3 separate regions of the Homo sapiens genome follow, and regions 1 and 3 are each linked to region 2. Evidence: promoter capture Hi-C in 16 types of primary human blood cells and fetal thymus (Javierre and others, 2016). All regions are on one chromosome and are shown on one strand. Each heading gives the region's core, a stretch centred on a gene start or on the middle of the fragment in contact. The rest is flanking DNA. Distances are from core to core; before and after follow the strand shown. Region 1 has its middle 43 kb from the start of TSPAN17. Region 2 holds the start of HK3 (hexokinase 3). Region 3 has its middle 34 kb from the start of LINC01574.

Evidence for each region. The method cuts DNA at HindIII sites, captures the fragments that hold promoters and counts their contacts. A CHiCAGO score of 5 or more calls a contact.
Region 1: a fragment that was not itself captured here is called in contact with the fragment with the promoter of HK3 in region 2 in 1 of 17 cell types (endothelial precursors); the score reaches 5.6 in endothelial precursors.
Region 3: a contact is called between a fragment that was not itself captured here and the fragment with the promoter of HK3 in region 2, in 1 of 17 cell types (endothelial precursors). The highest score is 7.2, in endothelial precursors.

The regions. Positions count from the first base shown.
Region 1 is chr5:176,687,734-176,692,278 of GRCh38, reverse strand. No RefSeq gene overlaps it. Among named protein-coding and RNA genes, the nearest start is that of TSPAN17, 43 kb to the right of the region's middle. The HindIII fragment of the contact is 5,662 bases long and covers 1-4,545 here.
Region 2 is chr5:176,896,656-176,900,776 of GRCh38, reverse strand. HK3 (hexokinase 3) reads left to right here and starts at 1,431. Exons shown (of 19, transcript NM_002115.3): 1 at 1,431-1,510. RefSeq lists an enhancer at 110-611. The HindIII fragment of the contact is 6,874 bases long and covers 634-4,121 here.
Region 3 is chr5:176,707,038-176,711,297 of GRCh38, reverse strand. No RefSeq gene overlaps it. Among named protein-coding and RNA genes, the nearest start is that of LINC01574, 34 kb to the left of the region's middle. The HindIII fragment of the contact is 6,145 bases long and covers 1-4,260 here.

The sequences.
Region 1 (4,545 bases), core at 578-3,077, 210 kb after region 2:
GCGAGGCTGAGGCAGGCAGATCACTTGAGCTCAGGAGTTCGAGACCAGCCTAGCCAACATGGTGAAACCCTGTCACTACCAAAACAAAACAAAACAAAACAACAACTTTAGCCAGGCATGGTGGTGCATGCCTGTAGTCCCACCTACTTGGGAGGCTGAGGTGGGAGGATTGCTTGAACCCAGGAGGCAGAGATTGCAGTGAGCCGAGATTGCAGCACTGCACTCCAGCCTGGGTGACAGAGTGAGACTCTGTCTCAAAAATAAATAAATAGATAAGGAATGGGAACCTTATCTCTTGTTCACTGCTCTGCCACCAGCACCTAGAGGACTTCCTGGTACACAACATGAGTGGAATGAATATTGATAAATATAATTAGCTCCAGTGAACAGTAAAGGAAACTGAGGCCTAGAGAGTGTATTAATCAGGGCTGTGTTTGTGAGTAACAGAATGCCCAACTAATACCCAGAGGTGGGTGATTGCTGGCACTGGCCCAGTTGCTCAGTGATATCCTTCCAGGCCAGGGAACTTCCCATCTTCCTGCCAGCCTTAGGACATTACTCTTAGCTTGCCCCTCATGGTCACAAGGTGGCTGCTGCTGCTCCTGACATCATGTGGCCTTCTAAGCCGGAAGCAGAGGAGAAGGCCAAATTCTGATCCAGCTGAGTCTATCCCTCTTTTTACTGGGCCCTTTCCACTCCCAGAACACCCTCAAAGATTCTTTCTCCAGCTCATTGGCCAGATTGGTGGCACTTGCCGCAAGAGAGATTGGGAAACTGAGCTCTCCAGGCTCCGCCTTAGAGGAAAGCAAAGAGAAGAGGGTTGGACAGGAAAGTGGGCCAGCCTCAGTGACAGCCATGGGGGGGTGAGGTGACTTGCCCATGGTCACAACTACACAACTGCTGGCTGACTCCAGGGTCCATCCCTATTTGTCATACCCTGGTGCTTCCCTCCTGGCACCTGTGTCAGAGAGAGAAGGCACTAGAGCAGATAGCGCAGGTGCCCTCAGGTCTGTCGCCTGGCCACGTGCAGTTGTGTCTAAGCTGCCTGTCTTGATCAGCTCCCAACATCTGCCTCCTTCCCACGACACACCCCAGTGCTCCGGCCACAACAATCCACCCAGTGCTCCCTGACCCACCCAGTCCCTAAGCCCTCCTCTGGCTCTATTCACCTGTTGCTCCTGGCCAGAGTCCCTGCTCACCCTGCAGCACTCCGCTCATCCTTCCAGGACCAGCTCAAATGTTGCCTCCTCCAACTCTTTCTCTTCTCCCTCTGTCATTTGGCACACATGACGTGCCTAGGTCAGCTCAGGGTGCTCCAAGGTACCCTTATATAGCTGACACTCCAGAGGAAGAGACAGGCCATAAGCAAATAAACAACAAAATAAGACCATTTTACAAAGGCACCAGTATTGTAATAAAAACAAAGCAGGGTGATGTGTTAGACACTGGGAGGTTGTGCCAGGCAGAATAATAGCCCCCCAAAGATGTCCTCAGTCTAATCCCTGGAACCTGTGACTATGTCAGGTCACACTCCAAGGAGAGTTAAAGGTGAAGATGGACTTAAGGTTGTGAATCATAAAGAATCTGGCTGGCCTTTGTACCCAGTTCCTGGGAGGTAGCCTCTAAATCCTTAGAATTTCCTGAGTGATGGGTGTCTTGTTACTTGCAGTCACTCAGACAATAGCTGTTACTTTATGCCAAGGAGGTGGCTCAGGATCAGGGCTGGACATGCCAGAAAGACCAGCCCTGTGATGAGAGGGTGGGGCTGTGAGCCACACATGATATCAGCCCGACCTCCATGGAGGAGAGGGGGATGGAGATGGGGTTCAGCTTCACGGCCAATGATGCAGCCCATTCAAGCAATTGTGTCCATGTAATGAAACCCCAATAAAAACTCAACACCAAAGCTCAGGTGTGCATCCCTGACTGACAATACTCTGTTTTGTCACACGTTGATGTCTCAGAGGGGGATGCGTCCTGACTCCACAGGGAGATCATGATGGACACTTCATGTTTGGGACTCTCCCAGACCTCACCCTGTGGGTCTGTCTCTTGGGTTGGTTCTGATTGTATCCGTTTATCATCGTAAGTATAGCCCTTTCCTGAGTTCTGAGTCATTCTAACAAATTATCAAACCTGAGGGTGCAGTGAGAGCCCCTGAATGTGTAGGCAGCTGGTGAGAAGTGGGGGTGGCCTGGGGCCCCTTGCTCCTGTGGCTGGTGTCTGAAGTGAGGGCAGTCTTGCGGAGGAATGTACCCTTAGCCTGTGGAGTCTGGCCTAATTCCAGGCAGTTAGTGTCAGAAGCCATTGCAGGTGGCTCATGAGCTGACCTTGAGTTGGGGACGTTGTCCTGAATTATCTGATAGGCCCAGTAGAATCACAAGAGTCCTTAGAGATGGAAGAGGGAGACAGAGGGAAGAGAACCAGAGAGTGAGAGTGCAGGAGGGACTCAGCCCAACTTGAAGGGGGAAAAGGGGGCCATGAGGATGGGGGAGGACAGGTGACCTCGGGCAGCTGGAAGAAGCAAGGAAACAGACTCCCCCTACGAGCCTCCAGGAAGAACACAGCCCTGCCCACACCTTGATGTTAGTCCAATGGGACCCAGGTTGGACTTGTGTCCCCCAGGACCGTAAGATATAAGTGTGCATTGTTTTAAACATCTAATCTTGGGGTGGTTTATTACAGCAGCAACAGGAAACTCATACAAGGATGCTACTTTGTGTGGGGAGGGTCAGGGAAGGCCTCTCTGAGAAGGTGGCAATTAGGGTGAAACTTGACCCTCCTCCTACCCCCTTATGTCACGCTGTTGCTGGCTTTGTTTGGAAGATGCCCACAAATGTGGACCTTACCGGATTCCGCTTTGTACACCCACAACTTACTGGAGACCAACAGGGACTAAGTTTTCAATAATGTTTTTCCTCACAGTAATTTATTTATTTGTTTATTTATTTAATTTCTTGAGACTGAATCCCACTTAGTCGCCCAGGCGGGAGTGCAGTGATGTAATCATAGCCCACTGCAGCCTTGAACTCCTGGGCTGCAGCAATCCTCCTGCTTTGGCCTCCCAAGTAACTGGGACTACAGGCGTGCACCACCATGCCCTGCTATTTTTGTTGTTGTTGTTGTTGAGACAGGGTCTCCTTATGTTGCCCAGGCTGGTCTCGAACTCCTGGACTCAAGTGATCCTCCTGCCTCATCCTCCCAAAGTGCTGGGATTACAGGCGTGAGCTCCCATGTCCAGCCATGGGTCAGTTTTCATGGGAACATAAGTTTTCATTTCTGTAGAGTAAATCCCCAGGAGTGGAATTGCTGGGTCACATGGTAAGCATATATTTAACTTTATAAACAATTGATAAATCAATTTCCAGACGGGTGGTGCCATTTTGAGTTCTCATCAGCAATGTGTGAGCATTCCACTTGGTATTGTCAGAACTTTTATTTTATTCATTCTAGTGGATGTGTAGTTGTACCTATTGCCCTAATGGATAATGATGTTGAACATCTTTTCATATGCTTATTGGACATCTTTATATCCTCTTTTGTAAAGTATCTGTTCAGATCTTTTGTCCAGTTTTTAAATGGGTTTTTTGTTTTCTTACTGATGGCAGCAGTGGCTCCATCATGCCGGCTGCAGCAGGGAGTCACAGCCAGGGCTGCACAGGTGGGGACAGACAGGAGTCCCACCCTTTCCAAGCTGGGGTAGGAGCTCCCCAGGTGACATTGCAGCCACCCAAGTCCTGGCTGCGGATCCGAGTCTCCCTGTGCTCTTGTGGGGCCAGGAACAGACAGGAACCCTGCCCTCCTGGGTGCAGCTGCAACCGCCCAAACCAAGGCTGCAGACCTGGGCTTCCCACTCCAGGAGCAGACAGGAGCCCTGCCCCCACCCCCCACCCCCAAACTGCTGCTGCAGGCTCAGGCATCCCTGCACTCTTGGAGGCTTGGGAAGTCCCCCTGCCCTTGCAGGCTTGGAAGTGCCTGCTCCCCTTGCCTGGCTTCTCCTTGCTATCAGGGCTGAGCCCAGTGCCATGAACTGCAGCAGGAGGCAGACAAATTCCTGGGCAGAAGGCGGCAGTCCCCAGTGAGGCTCCATCTTCAGGCCAGGGAGAGCCTGAAAGCTGGGGGCCAGGCTTCCAGTCCCACTGACCCAAGTGTCTTTTCTGGGTCTGCCCATGGCCGCCCGTGGACCAATCAGCATGCACGTCCCCGCCTCTGAGGCCCATAAAAGCCCTGGGCTCAGCCAGAGCTGAGCAGACAGTGGGATGACTAGCAGCAGAGAGGAGCTTCACACTCCAGGGTCTCCTCTCTGCTAGGAGCTGAACACTCATTGGGACACCCTGGCTGCAGAAAGGAGCTACCCCCTGTAGGTCTCCTGTGAGTTGTTCTGTTGCTCAGTAAGCTCTTCTTCATCTTGCTCACCCTGCACTTGTTTGCATACCTCATTCTTTCTGGCTGCAGGAGAAGAACTCGGGACCGCCAAATGGTGGAGCTAAAAGAGCTATAACATGAACAGGGCTGAAACACGGCCCTTGCTCACCACATTGCAGG
Region 2 (4,121 bases), core at 182-2,681:
ACTTGTCCTTCCCTTTGTTGGTCAGTGGCCATCTGGTGTCTGAAGAGAACCGCTGGCAGCTGCAGTGCCTCTGCTACAGCCAGGCTGTCCCAGCTGCTCACAGACCTCAAGCTCAGCCATCCTTCTCCCTCCACTGGCCTTGACCCAGACTTTCCCTGGCATTCTGACTAGGGAACCAGGACCCCTGCTCCTGGGGTCTGGACACAGACCTTCCAGAAACGCAGATGAAGAGCCCTGGCCATGCTTGTCAGGGGCATATCCTCACCCTGGCTCAAGAAATGGCAGGCTATCTGCATGAATCACAGCTGGGCCTTTCATAGTCAGTTCCACATTCTCCTCTCCCAACTGAACAAAGTTGAAAGGGACTGGGATCCCAGGCTAGGCAGGATGCTGTGTTGTTTGTGACAGCCACTCTACCCTCTGCCACCCCATCCCCCACTTCCCTGCCTTTCACAGCCTATATGCCTGGTTGGTACCCAGTAAACTTCACAGCAGGACTGATGTTTGGCATGTTTCCTGGCCTCTTCATGCCACTACTGATAGAGGAGCCACTATCTCTGGTCTCCATCCTGATGTCATGTGGAGGCCTACTATCTGTGGATAGAGTTACTGCTGACAAGGCAGCCTGAAGCTTTAAAGTGTATCCATGCCTTCAACAAAGATTGTTGCAGGCTGTCTAGTATTCTACATTGGTGCCCCAAGGTTCTGTGCCTTTGAGGAGAAATTCCCACAGAAAAACAGCTTGTTCGCCAATAGCTCCACAGCAGCCTAACACTCCCCTTCTTCCAGTAGAGAAGACCTAAGATGTGAACCTACTCTCCCTGCGCAGGCTACAGACTAAAGGCTAGACTCCGCAGTCTGCCTGTCACCTCCTCTCCCACTATATATTCCTACCTTGGTGTACCCTCTTCAGGCGCCTGGAGCTGCACCTCATTGCTGTGTGTGTGTGATTTGTGGTTGTGCACATGCTCTCCACTTTGTCAAGGACCACTTTTGTCAGCATACTGCTGTTCTTTCTTCAAGACTCAGCTTCTTCAGCTAGCCCTGCCCACTCTCGGCAGAGTCAGTCCCTTCCGCTTGTGCTCCCACATTGCCTCTTGCTCAAAAGTACTTACCATAACCTTTCCAGGCTAGGCGCCTCCAGCTCCTTCTAGGGGCGAGCCACCACCTCAGAACTCACTATATTTGCAAAATAAACAGCCCTCAGCATTGTAGAGGGAATGGCCCAAAATCTTAGACCCAGTTCAACGCTCCACTTCGCGGTAATCATCTTGCTCAAGTTTTCACCACAGCCTTGCCTAGCCTGGGCTACTCTTAGGGCAGGCTTGGAAGGAAGTGCAGCTTCCTGAATTAGCTGATGTTTGGTAAGTGGTGGTGGAGGAAAAGGGTGGGGCTTGAGGATATTATAACTCGGGTCACCCCTGAGTGTTGCTTTTGGTCATTGGGGTGCCTCATATTGCCAGACAAGAGCTCAGACCTGAGGAGAGTGACTAGCTTCTCTGTGTCCCAGGTAAGCACTTCGGTCTAATTACTGCCTGCTCCTTCCACAGCTGTCTTGTCCTCATCCCTCCTGTTTGGCTCACACCAGGGGAAGTGGACACTGGAAAGATTAAGCCAGCTGGTTCTCTTTCTTTGTTTTTGAGATGGGGTCTCTCTCTCTATCACCCAGACTGGAGTACAGTGGCACAGTCAGGGCTCACTCCAGCCTTGACCTCCTGGGTTCAAGTGATCCTCCCACCTCAGCCTCCGGAGTAGCTGAGACTACAGGCGCACACCACCACACCCAGCTAATTTTTGTTATTTTTTTCTAGCGATGGCGTTTTGCCATGTTGCCCAGGCTAGTCTCACATTCCTGGGCTCAAGCAGTCTGTCTGCCTCAGCCTCCCAAAGTGCTGGGATTACAGGTGCAAGCCACCACACCCAGCCTGCCAGCTGGTTCTCGATGGCAGCTCCCAACATCAGTAGAGGTCCCTGGGGTACTTTTCAGGAGGAAAACTCACTTCGTGTAGCCCATTCAGCTAAGGGAAGCCACGGGGCCCTTAGGCAAACAGACCCTGGGCTCTGGGGATACTGCAGTGAAGGAGACATGTCCCTCCCCACAGGGAATCTCAGTGGGAAGAGACAGAGCTGAATACATTTACCTAGCATATAAATATTAGGGCTACTTGGGGATTGCTTCACAGATTCTGTCATGTAAAAATGCTGAATAAATATTGAATGGATGAGGGAATGAATGAGTGAGTGAATGAATAAATGAACTAGCTGGGCCTTGAGAAAGACACGTGTGTAGCCCTTAGTCCTTTTCGAAGGTAATTGCCCCAGTTACCTCATTTTATCCTTGAAATAGACCTGCAGCATAGAACAAGAATTCCACACCCCTATTTGACAGATTTGGAAACTCAGCATAGGTATGTATGGTTTGGGGAGATTTATCAGAAGCTGATTTGTTGCTTTATTAAATAAAAAACTACCCACTCCCCTTGCTTCCAATTTTGGAAAGGCACATTAGCACATACCTATACCAGACCCTGTGCCGGCCATGAGTGCAGAGGTGATCAAGTTGGGTGGGGTAAGGAGGTGAAGAAACTAGAAGCAGAGCTATCAGTTTAGGAGGCTGTTGTAATAATCAGGCCGGAGGATGGTCTGGTGCAGTGTGTGGGAATGGGGAGGAGGGGATGCAGAGGAGAGCTCTTAGAGAGCCTGAGATCCAATTGCATAGAGGAGGTGAGGGTGAGGGATGCGCGCAGGCAGCCCGAACGGCCGTGTGAGTGAGCACACTTCGATGTCTCCAGTCAAGGTGGAGAACAGAAGAGCTTTGTGGGGGTAAGGTGATGGAAAAATGAGTATGGCTTTGTTGAATTTGAGGAGCTTCTCCACCATCCAGATAGTGATGTCTAACAGACCACTGGGATTTAGGATTTGGCTGAGGCCAAAGGTAGATTTGGGAGCCCTGACACAGCTATTAATGAAACCTTGGGAATGGGCGAGATAAAGGGAGTGTAGAGGGAGGGCATGACCGAAACTTGGGAACCCCATTGTCTGAAGGAACAGAAATTACTGATGAAGACTACGAGAGACTCAGGAAGGAGACCTAGGAGAGACTGGCCGTGAAAGCCAAGGACAGGGGGAATTCTGTAGCAAAGAGAATGACTACTGGCTTTGCATGCCTGAGAGAGGGCAGCAGAGGTGGGGACTGAGGAAAAGGCTTGGGATTGGGCAGTTAGGAGGTCACCAGTGACCACGTGGAGGGCAAATTAGTGAGCATAGTGGGAGTAGGCAAGGAGGGGAGTGTAGGGGTGGGAAGGTACTATATTTCCAGAAGTTCTGCTGTTGCAAGGAAGGGAGGTAAAGTGACTCAGTGGACAGATGTCTCTTCCCATATTGGGCCCTCTGCTGTGTTTCCCTTTTCCCCCACCCCTAAAGAGCACCTGACTCACTGAGGGCTCCCTTGGGACTATGGAAACAGCAATACCACCTCCAGCTCGGATGAGCGAAGTATCTGACATTTCTACAGTTCCTTACAGTGTGCAAAGGACCACTAACTCCTTTAATCCTCACAAGAACTGAGCTTTTCATGTTATAGAGGAAATGGAGAATCATAGAGTTTCAGTTCAGATTCAACTACATAAATCTGAATGCACATCTGAGCAAGTTCCTTTGCTCTCGTGATCTCATTTGCCCCACACAACCCTTTGATACATGTTGGTCCCATTTCACAGATGAAAAGCCTGGAGGTTGAGATGGGGTGCAGCTGCCTTGTGGAGAGCAGGGTTCCCACCTCTGAGTACAGGGCTCTTTCTGCTCTGCATCACTTCACTGTTAAAACCCACCTGATGTTTATGTTGCACACTACATCTCATAAAGCATTTCCCCAGGTGTTATTCTATTTAGTGCTCACAACAACCTTGTGAGGGTAGATATTATTTCCTCCTGTTTTATGGATGGAAGCTGAAATTCAAAGAAGTCATAAATGACGTCCAAGGTCAGGTCACTAGTGGAACCCCTTTCTGAAGCACAGATCCACCCCTGTCCATGACCCCTGTTGCCTTCAGGATGAAATTCATGTGCCTTAGCCTGGCACAATGGCTGTCCCTTTTCCAGCCTGCCTGCTTCTCTGGCAG
Region 3 (4,260 bases), core at 263-2,762, 190 kb after region 2:
ACTCCAGCTCACTACAGTTTTCTAACGAGTTACTCACCAGACTGTCTTCAGGGAACAGAAACTGATTAAAAACCAGGCGTGAAATGGCTCATCCTACACAATGCGTATAATAAATATTGATAACAACAACAACGATAATAATAATTTTGCCTACATTTCCCAGGTTGTCTAAGGAAGTGTCAGCAGCACAGTTACACACTGGAGAACATGCAGCATTCGGCTGCCTTAGAATAGCCTCCTTTGGCTCATTAGAGGGGTGTGTGCCCAAGGACAGGGGGCAGCATTTGTTCAGCTCTGGAATTTCCAGCGCGCAGCAGCTCCACACATCATGCCGAGGTGTCCTACGCGTGAGGGAGCCCTTGAGGTCCCAGCATGGGGAAAGCTCCTGTCTAATCGATGGGAGGGTGTGTCGAATTGTTCATTTATCCAATCAGTATTTATTGAGCGCCTACTGTGTGCCAGGCTGTGGATACTCAGAATGAAAACAACTCGGGGTCAGCCCTTGTGGAGTTTCATCTGCTGCAGTGGAAATGGCAAACTAACAAAACCCAAAGCAATCCTGAGAACTTGTTAGAAATGCAGATTCCCAGGCCCTACCTGGACCTGCCTGCTGAGGAGCTGTTCTGCTGCCCAGCCATCTGGATGTCCCAAGCCCTCCTGATGAATCTGATGGACGCTTTAATGGTGCAAGAGCTGGGACCTGAATGACAAGGAGTGGTGAGCCTTGACAAGCCCCAGGGGAGTGTTCTGGACAGAGGGCACAGCTGGGCACGGTCCTGTGCCAGGCAGAGGGCCTGTGTGAGGGAGAACCGAGCGATGGGGCCAGTGAGCTGCAGCCTGGAATAGTGTGGGTGACACCGGGGCAGCTGGCAGGGGCTTCTCAGACCTTCTAAAGACATTTGGATGCCGTTCCAGAGGCGCCACTGCTCTCACCTGCTTCCTGGCCTGGCCTGCTGTGGTGTAGAAACCTTGGACTTCACCTTCGCCTTCTTTCTGGGAAAAGGGCAGAGATCGGCTGTAACTCCTGTCCTATGTCTCAAGAGTTTTCACATTCCATCCAGTGCCCAGCTGGGTTCACTGGTCACTTCTCTCCACCAGTCTAGGAGAGTGGGAGAGGGATGGAGGAGAGACTCCGATTTTCCTAGAAACAAAGAAATGGGTGTGGAGGCGACAAAGGTGGTAGGATCGTAGGGAAAGGCTGGGAGAGCCCCGAAAAAGCAAGCCATGGTGTCAGGATGCTGGAGGGGCAGAAGCCTGGGAGTAAGTAAGGAGAGACTCAGTCACTGTCCCAGTGCCTATGGAGAGACTGGATAGGCCCTGGAACCACCTGTCAAGCTCTCTGGCCACTGGAGACTGGCGTGAGCCCCTTGTCACTCCCTCCCCGCTCCATCCTGCTGCAGTGGTGAGGCGCAGAGCAGTGCAGTGTGGCCGCTGCTAAATCCCTCCCAAGCCACCTCACTGGGCACTCAAGCGACGTGCAGCCCCAGGGGACAGACACGAGTCCCAGGGACCCCATTGGGACAACTGTCCTGCAAGTCAGCTCTTAAGCCCAGCCCATGGGCACTGCCTCAGAGGGCAGGTCAGCCCCCCTTGGAGAAAAGGCTCCTGCCCTGCTTGTTATTCCAGCAGCTCTGGCTGGGAGCAAAGACAAGCCAGCCTGCCAAGCAGACGTTCCCTCCCAGCAGGTAGGCCACAAAATGCAAGGAGGGCTTGAAGACCTCAGAAATTTGGAACTGGTTGGGTGCGGTGGCTCACATCTGTAATCCCAGCACTTTGGGAGGCCAAGGCAGGAGGATCACTTGAGCCTGGGAGTTCGAGACCAGCTTGGGCAATGTAGTGAGACCCTGTCTCAAAAAAGAAAGAAAAAGAAGGAAAGAAAGAAAGAGAAAGAAAGAAAGAAAGAAAAAGAAAGAAGAAAGAAAGAAACGAAGGAAGGAAGGAAGGAAAGAAGGAGGGAGGGAGAGAGGGAGGGAGGGAAGGGAGGGAGGGAGGGAGGAAAAGAAAATAAAAAAATCAGAAACAGCACATCATGAGCTCTGTGAGACCACTCGTTCCCTCTTCCCATTTTCAAAGTCTTTCTTGAGCACCCACATGCACTGGGGACTGTTCTGGGCCCTGAGGATCCCCCGTCTGTGAATAAGACAAGATAGGTCCCCTCTTCCCTGGAACTTCCCGTCCTAGTGGGATGAGATAATAACACGAAGCTAGTAAACGGGAAAATGACAGTGAGGATGCTGTAGGGTGATGCTTCCGGGGGCGGAGGGCTATTAGGCAAGGCCCCAGAGGACCTGACATTTTTGCTGAGACAGGGATGATGAGAGGGAGCAGAGGGACCTGCAGGAAGAGCATCCCTGGCAGAGGAACGGCGAGTGCAAAGACCCTGACAGCAGCGGGCCCATTACCCCCTGCAAGGAAGCCAGGCCTCAGAAGAGGTGGCAAAGTCACTGTCCATTTCCCCCTGGAACAAGCCCAACTACTCACCTACATGGGGTTTCTTCTGGTACCAAGGAATAGTCAGAAAAGAGACCAAATCAAATAGAAGCAGCTTAATATTTTCAGGCTGTTTGCAGGCCCCTGGAGCTCACATTTGGAGGGCTGGGAGGGGGTACCGGCAGAGAGGTGAAGCCAGGGGTTATAGAACGCATCAGCCAGACACAGTGAGGATCCCAGCTCTATTGCTCACCAGCTGTGTGACCTGGGCAATTGCTTCCCATCTCTGGACCTGCATTTTCTCACCTCTATCTTGCTTTTTCGGTTTTTTTTCTTTTTTTGAGACAGGGTCTCACTCTGTCCCCGAGGCTGGAGTGCCGTAGGGCCATTACGGCTCGCTGCAATCTCCGCCTGCCTGGCTCAAGCAGTCCTCCCACTTCAGCCTCTTGAGTAGCTGGGACCACAGGTGTGCACCACCACACCCAGCTAATTTTTGTATTTTGTGTAGAGACAGGGTCTCGCTATCTTCCCCAGGCTCGTCTCAAACTCCTGGGCTCAAGTGATCCTCCTGCCTCGGCCTCCCAAAGTTCTGGGATTACGGGCATGAGCCACCGTTCCTGTCCTCTATCTTGTCAAGTGTAATTCCTGAAAACGGTATTTATGAAGCACCTGGTAGAGGTAGCTCCTCCATCCACAGTGGCTGTGATTGCAACACCCAATTTCGAGCCACGCTCTGTGTTGTTCTGCAGGGCTTATTAAGCACCTCCTGACCACAGGAACAGAAGAGGGCATGATTCCCGCACCCAAGCTCTACACAGGGAGGAAGAGGCATCTGTGGAGAGCAAGGGAAGCACACGGTGCTGGCAGAGTCGGAGAGGACAGGGTCACTGGGGCTGTTGTCTCTCTCTGCCCAGCTTATGGGACTTCTTTTCTTGAAACAGAATCCATGCATCAGAAGTCTCCCCTCCTCCTCCCTTAGTTCCTGCAGATCTGGTGGGGCTCCCCCTCCACCAGGGTCAGGGGTACAATCGGGACCAGACCTGACCTTTCAGCCCTGTGGGCCCCACCGCTCCACGGTGATTGGTCAGGGGTGGAGTAAGCATCAACCCTGGGGCCTTGGCAGAACCCTGGGCAAAGGTTTCTCTTTCCACAGGGGTTGCTAACTGCAGGATGGGCACCTGGACTACTGGGGCCATCCCTCTCCTCCTTGCGGAGGGCCTTCTGAGAATGAAGTCACATAGAAGCCAGAAGAGCCCAGAGATGGAGACCAAGCACCCATGACACTGTTGGAATCCCGGGAACCACCCAGGCCCGGTCCAGCAGCACCATCTCTGGACTTTAAACTGATGTCAGACAATTCTCTTTCAGCTCATGCCAATTTTAATTGGGTTTCTGTTATTACTTGCAACCAAAGATTCCTGACTGATTCAGAGGATTTCGTTAGGAGAGTTAGAGCTTGAGCTTCCGAGAAGGATCTGAATCAATGATTAGGGAGGGACAAGAGTGTGTATTAGGGAATGATAAGAAATGAAATTGAGAGGTGGTATGGATGTGTGTTTGTTGCTGCCCCAGCATCCATTTCCTCCCCTCCCCCTTCCTCATAGAATCTGAAATGTCCTAGTCATGGATTTTGGTAAAATTGACCCCAAATGCAGCTTCAAGGGTGGGCCCACGTTAGCTTAGCTGATAGCATTTTCCATCCCCATGTCCAGGTGGAGATAACTGAATCATGGAGGCGGTTTCCCCCACCCTGTTCTCCTGACAGTGAGTGAGTTCTCATGAGATCCGATGATTTTATAAGGGGCTTTTCCCTTTTTTGCTCAGCACTTT